Linked DNA regions of Homo sapiens: regions 1 and 2 are each linked to region 3. The links are contacts of gene promoters, found by promoter capture Hi-C in blood cells and fetal thymus (Javierre and others, 2016). All regions are on one chromosome and are shown on one strand. Each heading gives the region's core, a stretch centred on a gene start or on the middle of the fragment in contact. The rest is flanking DNA. Distances are from core to core; before and after follow the strand shown. Region 1 has its middle 20 kb from the start of FAM136A. Region 2 has its middle 46 kb from the start of FAM136A. Region 3 holds the start of ATP6V1B1-AS1 (ATP6V1B1 antisense RNA 1).

Region 1 (3,156 bases), core at 153-2,652, 630 kb before region 3:
AACTTGAACATAGGATTGTGTGGTTCAGAAAGGCCTCAGCGATTCCTGCTTCTGTGGAGAAGAACATTCTACTCACTATGAGGTTTGGCCTTTCTTTCCTCCACCCTTATCGTATCTTCCTTTCTGGATCCAGTCTCCCAGGCTTCTTTGTGTGTTTTCCTTTCACCTGTCCAGCCCAAGTCCTAGAAGCTTCACTTTTATATTCAAGTTAAGTAAAAGAACTCATTTCTCCTCAGGCAGAACTCTGTCTCTATATCTTAGAATAATACACATGTACACACAAATACACATATTTCTCTCTCTGCTACACAAATGTTTTAAAAATTAGTCTGCCTGATAAGCACATAGGCATTGGCTGTATTAGTCTCTGTGTTTACTTTCCTGTGTGCTCGAAAATATTTCAAAATAAAAAATTAAAAGGAAAATGAATGGAGAAGACTGGGGATGTCATGATCAATGCTGGACATAGGGGAAATAGCTCCGTTGGTACACAGAGTCTCATTTATTTATTTACAAACGTCTGGCTTACGATGTGCCGGGCATTATTCTAGGTGCTTTGGAAATATGTCTTCAAATCCTCATTCTAATCCTATGGTATTATTATTATTGTCTGCATTTTACAGATGAGGAAACAGAAAAGTTAAGCACCTTACACAAGGTCATGTGTTTGCAAGTAGTAAAGCCAGGATTCAAACCCAGGCTGTCTGGCTCCAGAGGCCATACCTGTAACCACCATGCCTTCCTGCTTCTTGACAAGTGTCCCTTGTAGGCCAGTGGGATTCAAGGGCAGTGGGGACTCAGGGGGCAGTAACAAAGCAGCAAGCTCTTAGTAACTTTTTTTTTTTTTTTTTGAGACAGGGCACACTCTGTCACCCAGGCTGGAGTGCAGTGGCACGATCTAGGCTCACTGCAACCTCCACCTCCCGGGTTCAAGTGATTCTCATGCCTCAGCCTCCCTAGTAGCAGGGATTACAGGCAACTGCCACCATGTCCGGCTAATTTTTTGTTTTGTTTTGTTTTTTGAGATGGGGTCTTGCTCTGTCGCCCAGGCTGGAGTGCCGTGGCGCAGTCTCGGCTCAGTGCAAGCTCTGCCTCCCGGGTTCACGCCATTCTCCTGCCTCAGCCTCCTGAGTAGCTGGGACTACAGGCGCCCGCCACCACGCCCACCTACTTTTTTGTATTTTTAGTAGAGATGGGGTTTCACTGTGGTCAGGATGGTCTCGATCTCCTGACCTCGTGATCTGCCCGCCTCGGCCTCCCGAAGTGCTGGGATTACAGGTGTGAGCCACCGCGCCTGGCCAATTTTTGTATTTTTAGTAGAGACGAGGTTTCACCATGTTGGCTAGGCTGGTCTCGAACTCCCGTCCTCAAGTGATCTGCCTGCCTCAGCCTGCAAAGTGCTGGGATTACAGGCGTGAGCCACCATGCCCCATCTCTTAGTAGTTTTTGAGGAGCAGTTTAGAGTGTCAGCAAAGTTCTTCACAGATCCAAGAGTTGTTAGCTGATGTAATCCGGCTGGATGAGGGAGGTAGAGAGGAAGGCAAGAGGTGGCGGGTGGCTGAGGGCTGCTTGCGTAACATCTTGACTGTGGCAGCAGACACAGTGGAGGTTGTGAGATTTGTTATGGATGTTAAGAAGGGCTAAAGAGCCACTAGGTGATCATAGCTCACTGTAGGCTGGGTTCAGTGGCTCATCTCTGTAATCCTCAGCACTTTGGGAGGTTGAGGCAGAAGGATCACTTGAGCCCAGGAGCTTGAGGCTGCAGTGAGCTATGATTGTGCCACTGCACTGAAGCCTGGGCAACAGAGTGAGACCCTGTCTCTTAAAAAAAAAAAAAAAAGCTCACGATAACCTTAAACTCCTGGGCTCAAGTGATCCTCCAGGCACAGCCTCCCTAGTAGCTAGGACTACAGACACATACCACTATGCTCAGCTAATTTTTAATTTTTTTGTAGAGACAGGGTCTCACCTCGTTGTCCAGGCTTGCATTGCATTGTTCTTTTTTCTTTTTTTCTTTTTTTTTTTTTTTGAGACAGAGTCTTGTTCTGTCACCCAGGCTGGAGAGCAGTGGCACCATCTCTGCTCACTGCAACCTCCACCTTCCAGGTTTAAGCGATTCTCTGGCCTCAACCTCCCAAGTAGCTGGGATTATAGGTGTGTGCCACCATGCCTGGCTAATTTTTGTTATTTTCAGTAGAGATGGGGTTTTGCCACGTTGGCCAGGCTGGTCTTGAACTCCTGACTTTGGGTGATCCACCCATCTTGGCCTCCCAAAGTGGTGGGATCACAGGTGTGAGGAGGCTTGCCTTGTTCTTTAAAGTCAAGAAAACATAGTTTCTAGGAAATGGAAAAAAAAGATAATGAGATAATAGAAATGAAGATGGATCTGCCTAATGGAGTACATAAAGAGGAAGGAAGATGAAATAAAAAGGAAAGAACACTTTGAAATGAAATGTGGTAGTGGTTTCCATAGTACTTAATGTTTTAGAAGTGGGGATCTTATGGGAAAATCTAGGTTTCAGTTAAGACAAGGAGGTGAAGGAAACCTTAGTAGAAAGGTTGGCAGTATGGGGGCATTTATTACACTCAAAACTAATTCTGGTGGGCATGGTGGAAAAGCTTGAGACAGAAACAGAAGGAAGTTGAGTCAGGGCATGGAAACCCTGAGTGCTATGATGATGAAAATACCAGAGGTGGTAGACGGCCAGAGAGCCTTGTGTTACAGAGTCATGTGTGTGGGGCAGGGTGAGTTTAATTGGCTACTCAGGTAGGACACAAACCAGCTAAGGCTCTGGAAGTACACATGCACTTTTCACCAGGAACATATCCCGCTGGTGTGTGTGCAGCAAAGTACAGCCATTGTTAAGAGACACTCAAAACAAAAGCAACCCAGAAAGGCTACAAATAAGAGGGCAGCCTTGCAAAGGCAGACCCAAAGAAATCAGGGATTGCAGCATCAGTATCAGGATAAATGAATCCAAGATAAAAACATGCTGAAGTTCTTTTAGGCCTTCAAGGAAAAAGATGAGTCCCAGGTTTAATAAATCCAACACTGACTAAGTGAAATTAATAAAGGAATTTATTGGTGTAACTCATCAAATCAAAGACAGAGCAGAGACAGAGCTGGCTTTGGCCAAACCAAAGGACTCCAGGGCA
Region 2 (3,344 bases), core at 729-3,228, 600 kb before region 3:
TCTTCAATCATGCTAAGTGTGTCCTCATTTCAGTTCAGACTCTTCCTTTGAGTCCTTTGTGCCCTAGTCCTAGTTTTAAGAGTCTTGGCTACCTGTAGGAGACCTTAAGGGTCCCTCAGGTGTTGCTGGGTTCTCTAAGAACTCCTTAGAGACCTGTTTGAGACAAGGTCTTGCTCTCTTGCTCAGAGTGGAGTGAAGTGGCACAATCACATCTCACTGCAGCCTCGGTCTCCTGGGCTCAAGCAATCCTTCCACCTCAGCCTACCGCGCAGCTGGGACCACGCCTGGCTAATTTTTAATTTTTGTAGAGACGGGGTCTCACTATGTTACCAGGCTGGTCTCCAACTCCTGAGCTCAAGCGATTCTCTCACCTCTGCTTTCCAAAGTGCTGAGATTACAGGTGTGGGCCACCGTGCCTAGCCTAGGTTTTGTAAGCAATTATGCAACCTTCACCCTTTCCCCCTAGAGGCTCTAAAACTCTGCCATTAGAGAGTCCTTCTCAAGCAAACCAGGGATATGCTCTGGTATGAAAAGGTGGTGGGTTTTCCAGTTTGTTCTGAGGGCCCAAGCCCCTTTAGAACAAGAATCAAAACAATGCCTGGGACCTGCCCTGTTATCCAACCCTATGCTCTCTCTTCCTGGTGGAGGCTCCAGAATTTCTGGATCACTGGATTTAGGGGATGCAATCCAGCTGGAAGAGAGTGGAACAGAGTTAGGGAACTTGTCTTGAAGCTGCAATTGCAGGGTTTTGCACCGAGTGTTTTAGGAGGTGGCTTGTGTGGGGTGGTGGTGAGGGGGTGCTGATGAGATTTTAGAGGAAGGTTTTGAGCCTGGGCACTGCTACTGGCTTCCCCTTTTGTTAGAACCTGGCCATGCCTCTGAACATGGCTTCTCTTCTCTCTGTGGACTGACAGCACCTGAGGGAGGGCAGGGAACAACCAGGGAGGCCCCAGCATGGGAACAGAGAAGAGAGACAGGCAGCCCTGCCTGTACCAGGGACCTCTTGAAGACTGTGTGGATGGTCCCTGACTTAGGATTGTTTGATTTAGGATTTTTTGACTTTAGATGGTACAAAAGTGATACACATTCAGCAGAAACTGTACTTTGAGTTTTTGGAATTGGGCTACATTTGTTGATATTGTTTTTTCTATTGCAATTAAGTCTAATAGAAGAGATGTTATATTTTGGTTGCAGTGAGGTTTGAATATGATATCATGTGGTGTATTGTAATGGGAAGAAACCTAATATGTTGAAGAATTTATATGTGTGTGAAGGGGATTCAAGTTTGAGATTATTAGTCATAAGATTAAGTTCCACTGCTACTGTAAATCCTAGAATGCTTATGCCAAGGGCTTTAAGTTTTAGTTTAGTTTAACACAACCATTCTGTTTTCCAACTTCAGTATAGTATTCAATAAATTACATGAGATATTTAACACTATTATAAAATAAGCTTTGTGTTCAATGATTTGCTCAACTGTAGAGTAATGTAAGTGTTCTGAGGACTTTTAAGGTAGACTAGGCTAAGCTCTGATGTTCAGTAGGTTAGGCATATTCAATGCATTTTGGATTTTTAGTACTTTCAACTTATGGTGGGTTTATCAGGATGTAACCCCATTGTAAATCAAGGTGCATCTATATGTGAAAGAAAGTTAGTAGAGAGCCCTGTTCATCTACCAAGTCCTGCAGTGAGGACCAGGGGTGGGGTTGGGAGTGGTGCTCTGCAGGAAGCAGGAAATCACCCTCTCCAGTTACCTGGGGGCAGGGGAGCTGGGGATGAAGTCTGTATTGCTGCTATAATAAATTACTGTAAATTTAGTAGTTTAAAACAACACAAATTTATTATCTTACAGTTCTGAAGATCAGAAGTCTAAAATCAATCTCACTGGGCTAATGTCAAGGGACAAAAGGGCTGATTCCTTCTGGAGGCTCTAGGGGATCTTTTTCCTTGTTTTTACAGCTGCTGGAGGCCACCTGCATTCCTTGGCCCATGCTCCCTTCCTCCATTGTCAAAGCCAGCAAAGGTAGCATCTGCCAATATGACTTCTGCTTCCATAATCACATGTTCTTCTATGACTCTGACCTTCCTGCCTTTGTCTTATAAAGAACCTTATGATTATTTTGGGCCCACCCAGATAATCCAGGATAACCTCCCCATCTCAAAATCCTTAATTTATTCACGTCCACAAAGTCCCTTTTACCAGGTACGATAACATATTCACAGGTTCTGAGGATTAGGACATGGACATTTTTGGAAAGTCTTATTCTGCCTACCACAAAGGCCAAATTCAGAAGGTGAAGAGTGTGTGGTTGGGACACAGGTGTAGGAATTGTTATGTCTATTTGACTAGAACTCCCTCTTCATAAGATTGCCTTGAGTCAAAGAGAGCTGCCAGCCAGAGGACAAAGGAGTTTAAAGGGTTTTTCCTCTATCAGAAGGAGTCCTTTCTGGGCGGTGGTGCTTTTGCCTCTCTGGTGACCTGGGACGAATGTCAAATGCCACAGCAAAGCTTGGAAATATTGCCCAGGTGTTACGACTCTCTACATATATGTTCCAAAAAAGTCTTCAGATGACAAATTAAGATTGACTTAGAAAACTCAGTAGTGGTCCTAAACATCTTAAATAACAGAATTATAATTAAAAATACATCATTTCCTATATTCTACTTTCACCAAATGATATGTACAATCATTTCCTATATCTTTATGTTCACCAAAAACATATTCAGAGTAACACCATTTGCATTAGCCCCAAACAGCTTCCCAAATGCCCACCAATGGTAGAATGGATAAACTGACAGAAGACTGGTGTAATCAATGGAATTCAAAACAGCAGTGAGAACGAACCAACAACTGCATCCAATATGAAAAAATATCAAACAGAATGTTAAGAGATCAGCTTTAAAAAAAAAAGCACATTTTCTATGATTTATATCAAATCCCAAACCAGGGAAAACCAATCATGGTGTTAGAAGTCAGGGCAGTTACTCTTGATGAGGGGGAAAGGTGGTGAACAGCTACTGGAGGAAGGTACAAGTGGGCTTCTGGGATGTTAGTAAGGTTCTGTGTTTCTGTTTGCTAGTTTTATGGATGTGTTAGGTTTGCAAAAATTCATCAAGTTGGACATTTGTGATTTGTGCACTTTGCCATATGAATGCTATACCTCAATATAAAGTTAGAAATATATGTATACTATTTCCAACAGCAACAAAAACTATGAATCCAGTAATAAGTCTAACAAGCAGATATGCAAAACCTTTATGGAAGACATCAAAGAAGACCTAAAAACATGGAGAACGTGGTAGTTAATTTAAAGTGTCAACCTGGCTGGGCTATGGTACCCAG
Region 3 (3,474 bases), core at 281-2,780:
TCCTCAAATGTAAGAACATTTGAGGGAAGAATTTTGTGTAGATCAGAGGTTCTTAGCCCAAGGAATTAGGCCCTTGAAATTGTGTGCAGACCTTTGAAGGTATGCATGAATGTGCCTGTGCATTTTTCTGGTAGGAGTTTCTACAGTTTCGTCTGATTTTTCAGGGTTCGTGACCCAGAAAAGTCTAACTCTCTGATTTGTATAAGTTGAACAAGCATCAGAATATCAGGGGTGCAGGGGGCTTGTTAACAGGCAGATTGCTAGGCCCCACCCCAGAGCTCTGATTCAGCATGCCTGGGGTAGGAGGCCCAAGAATGTACATTTCTATCAAGTTCCTAGGTGATGCTGCTGGTATGGGGACCACACGGAGAACCTCTGTTCTAGAGAATCTTCTGACTCCTGTAGTCTGTGATTCAAATTGGTCCCTGTTTGAGAATTGGAGTAAGCACTCACCTTAACCACCAGACTCCATCCCCAATGTCTGTGGCTGCTTTCAAAAGAGTCTGCATCAGCTCTGAAGACAATTTCCAAAGAGGAGCCTCCGCACTGCCCTGGCCATTGTCAGCAGGAGGGACCTTAGAGGCAGCATTCCTGTGCACAAATCCCGACAGGCTTGCTAAGAACTTCCAGTCCTCCGTGTGTAGACAGCAGCTCCCCTGTGCCTGGCCACTTGCTGGTTGAGAGCTCAGTTGAATCTCCAGCACGGGGTTACATTGCACTGAGTCATGCCCTCTTCCTGCAGCCCTCTTAGTAACCGACATCAACCGAGTTGATGGGATCAGGCCTGCTCAGTATGCGGCTGGGAAATAGGGCCCCTTAAGATACAAGCTCCTGGACTAGCTATCCCCCACGGGAATTCTCCCAGGTACCCACTGCCATAACTGGTCATGAGATCCCACCACCAACAACAATAACGACGAACATCCAGCACACACTTAGAGCCTGGGGCTCTTCCTAAAGGTTCCAGACACTACACCCTCCATGCCTGAGTGTGAAAACCTGATGGCCCTTCCCCAGATCTGACCACAATTTCTGCCATTTAAAGTTCATTTTCTCTGATTTTGTCCTTCAGGGACACAGAACGCACCACTCTCCTCTCCACTCTCCTCTCCTGCCACCCTCCCTCTCTCACCCACATAAACTCACATGAAAATGATCACTTTTTTTTTTTCTTTTTGAGACGGAGTCTTGCTCTGTCGCCAGGCTGAAGTGCAATGGCACGATCTCTGCTCACTGCATCCTTCTTCTCCCGGGTTCAAGCGATTTTCCTGCCTCAGCCTCCCGAGTAGCTAGGACTACAGAAAATGATCACTTTTAAATCACTCCACCGCCTGATTTCTTTGGGGCACACTCTGGCCTGTGTTCTGTACAGCAACTTTTCCCCTGAGGTTGAAACAGCCCTCCGTCACCTCCAGGGAGATGACAAATAATGAGGCAGGGCCCGTTTCGTATCGAAACACAGGTTATCAGAGTGGGAGAGGAAAACGAGCCGGGACGTGTGTTCCACGCGTTTCCCAGGCCCTCGCTGTCCGTGCTCCTGGGCTCCCTCTTGTGGTTGAGAACCCAAGACGCCTGGGTGTTCGGAGCTCCTCCCACCTCGGAGCCCTCCTCCCCGGCCGGCCTAGTGCTGAAGCCCCCACTCCGCAAGGCTGAGGGGTGGTTTGGGGAACCACAGGTCACCTTCCTGGCATCCTCTTCACAGGACAAGGGAGGACTCAAGGTAGCGCTCCCTTCCGTGTGATTGTCAGGGCTGCAAACCTAGTCTCAAGTTCGACCAGCAGGGGTTCCCTGGCGGAGTGGTCCCTACTTGGTCACACCTTGCTGGGGAATTGGACCCTCCGCCCCAACCCGCAAGCCCTTAAGGTCACTAGTTTGTGGCCAGTAGGTGATATAACGATAGTAATGATGATGATAATCACCAGCACTGTGCTGTAACATGTCCTAAAAATGTATTATATTTTAATTGCAAAAATAATACATGCTCCTTGTAACTTAGTGAAAAAGAGGAAAGACACGTAAAGTTAACTATCTGCCCCTAACCGCTTTATTCTCAGCCCCGAAAGACCCTGCTGAATACGCTCAAACACAGGCAAATATGTTAGAGGTTGACCTCGGGGTCAGTCCCTTGAGAGCCAAGGGACTGACAGTGGATCCACTGACAGTGTCAGCGGATACACATTTTACGCATTCTTTTGGATACTGGCATAGCAGGCGATAGTATGGATGTACTGTAACTTACTCAATAGTCCCATTATTGACAGACATTCGTATGTTCTCAGGTTTTGCCATTACAAATAGTACAATATTGTATCCCTTTTAAACGGACGCTTTTGTGGTTATAGGATAGATTCCCAGAAGTGGAATTGCTGGTTCAAGTACTTTTTTATTTCAAATTAGATATTGACAATTTGGGGCAAGATGGCTTGCCCAGAAGGGTTGTGGTAATTCACATTTCCACCAACCAGGTATGAGAGGACCCACTTCCCCACATCCTTGCTGGCCCTGAATATGTTCTCTCTGTAGTTTTACCTATCTAATAAATGAAAACTAGTACTGTCTCGCTTTTATTTACATTTCTCTGATAACTAGGAAAGTTGAGTGTCTGTCCATATGTTTACCATTTTGATTTTGCTTCCTTCTCCGTGAAATCTTCCTACCAAGCAAGTTGTGCATACGGGAGCTCCTTGTTTATTGCTCACAGGCTATCTTTTGCAACAATAAATGAAACAAAGATTTCATCTATTGTGTCTCTGCCATACAGAAGTTTGAAATACTCATATGATCAAATATTTTTTGTTTATACCTTCTGAATTTCTTGTCTTGCTTAAAGACATTGCTCATCTGTCTTTTAATTGGATTATTCAGAAAGATAGGAAAGAAGAAAAGCTCTTCCAGTATTTTTTAAAAATTGTTTTTACTTTATATTTAAATTTTTTTTACATGCCTGGAATGTATTTGGGTTTATGATGTGGTTATCTTCTAACTAGATATCCTCTTATGTTCTATATATTATTTCCCCTCTGAGAATTAATTAATATACAACATTTGTTCTATAATAGTCCTATAAAATCTGGGATCTCCTTCTGGACTTTTTTTCTTTCCTACTGATCCATTTGTCTACCTCATATCAATTTACTGCTTGACTTCAGTAGCTTTATAACAAGTTTTAATATCTGAAAAGGCAAGTCCTCTATCTCTGATCTTTTTCATAACTACTTTGGCTATTCTCAGACATTTATGTGAACTTTAAAATAATTTTATTAAATTTTAAAATAAACAATAATCCATTAGGGTTGGATCAAATTTATATACTTTTCAAAAGGATTAATGTTTTTATGCTAGTAACTAAGAACATTAAGACAATAATGTTCTTCATTGTTTAGGACTTGTTTTATGTTATTCCATAATTTTTTTTTGTACCTTTCTTGTTATATTTATTTCTAGCTATTTTATGAGTTTTGGCCCTATTGCAGA

Evidence for each region. The method cuts DNA at HindIII sites, captures the fragments that hold promoters and counts their contacts. A CHiCAGO score of 5 or more calls a contact.
Region 1: a contact is called between a fragment that was not itself captured here and the fragment with the promoter of ATP6V1B1-AS1 in region 3, in 16 of 17 cell types (M2 macrophages, M1 macrophages, M0 macrophages and 13 more). The highest score is 14.9, in M2 macrophages.
Region 2: a fragment that was not itself captured here is called in contact with the fragment with the promoter of ATP6V1B1-AS1 in region 3 in 4 of 17 cell types (M2 macrophages, M0 macrophages, M1 macrophages and 1 more); the score reaches 8.0 in M2 macrophages.

Annotation. Positions count from the first base shown.
Region 1 is chr2:70,320,020-70,323,175 of GRCh38, forward strand. No RefSeq gene overlaps it. Among named protein-coding and RNA genes, the nearest start is that of FAM136A, 20 kb to the left of the region's middle. The HindIII fragment of the contact is 2,430 bases long and covers 188-2,617 here.
Region 2 is chr2:70,346,034-70,349,377 of GRCh38, forward strand. It overlaps the pseudogene BRD7P6. Among named protein-coding and RNA genes, the nearest start is that of FAM136A, 46 kb to the left of the region's middle. The HindIII fragment of the contact is 1,057 bases long and covers 1,451-2,507 here.
Region 3 is chr2:70,947,081-70,950,554 of GRCh38, forward strand. It overlaps ATP6V1B1-AS1 (ATP6V1B1 antisense RNA 1), which reads right to left and starts at 1,531. Exons shown (of 2, transcript NR_110274.1): 1 at 1,147-1,531. All of the region lies in intron 2 of ATP6V1B1 (ATPase H+ transporting V1 subunit B1), which reads left to right. The HindIII fragment of the contact is 10,354 bases long and covers 1-3,474 here.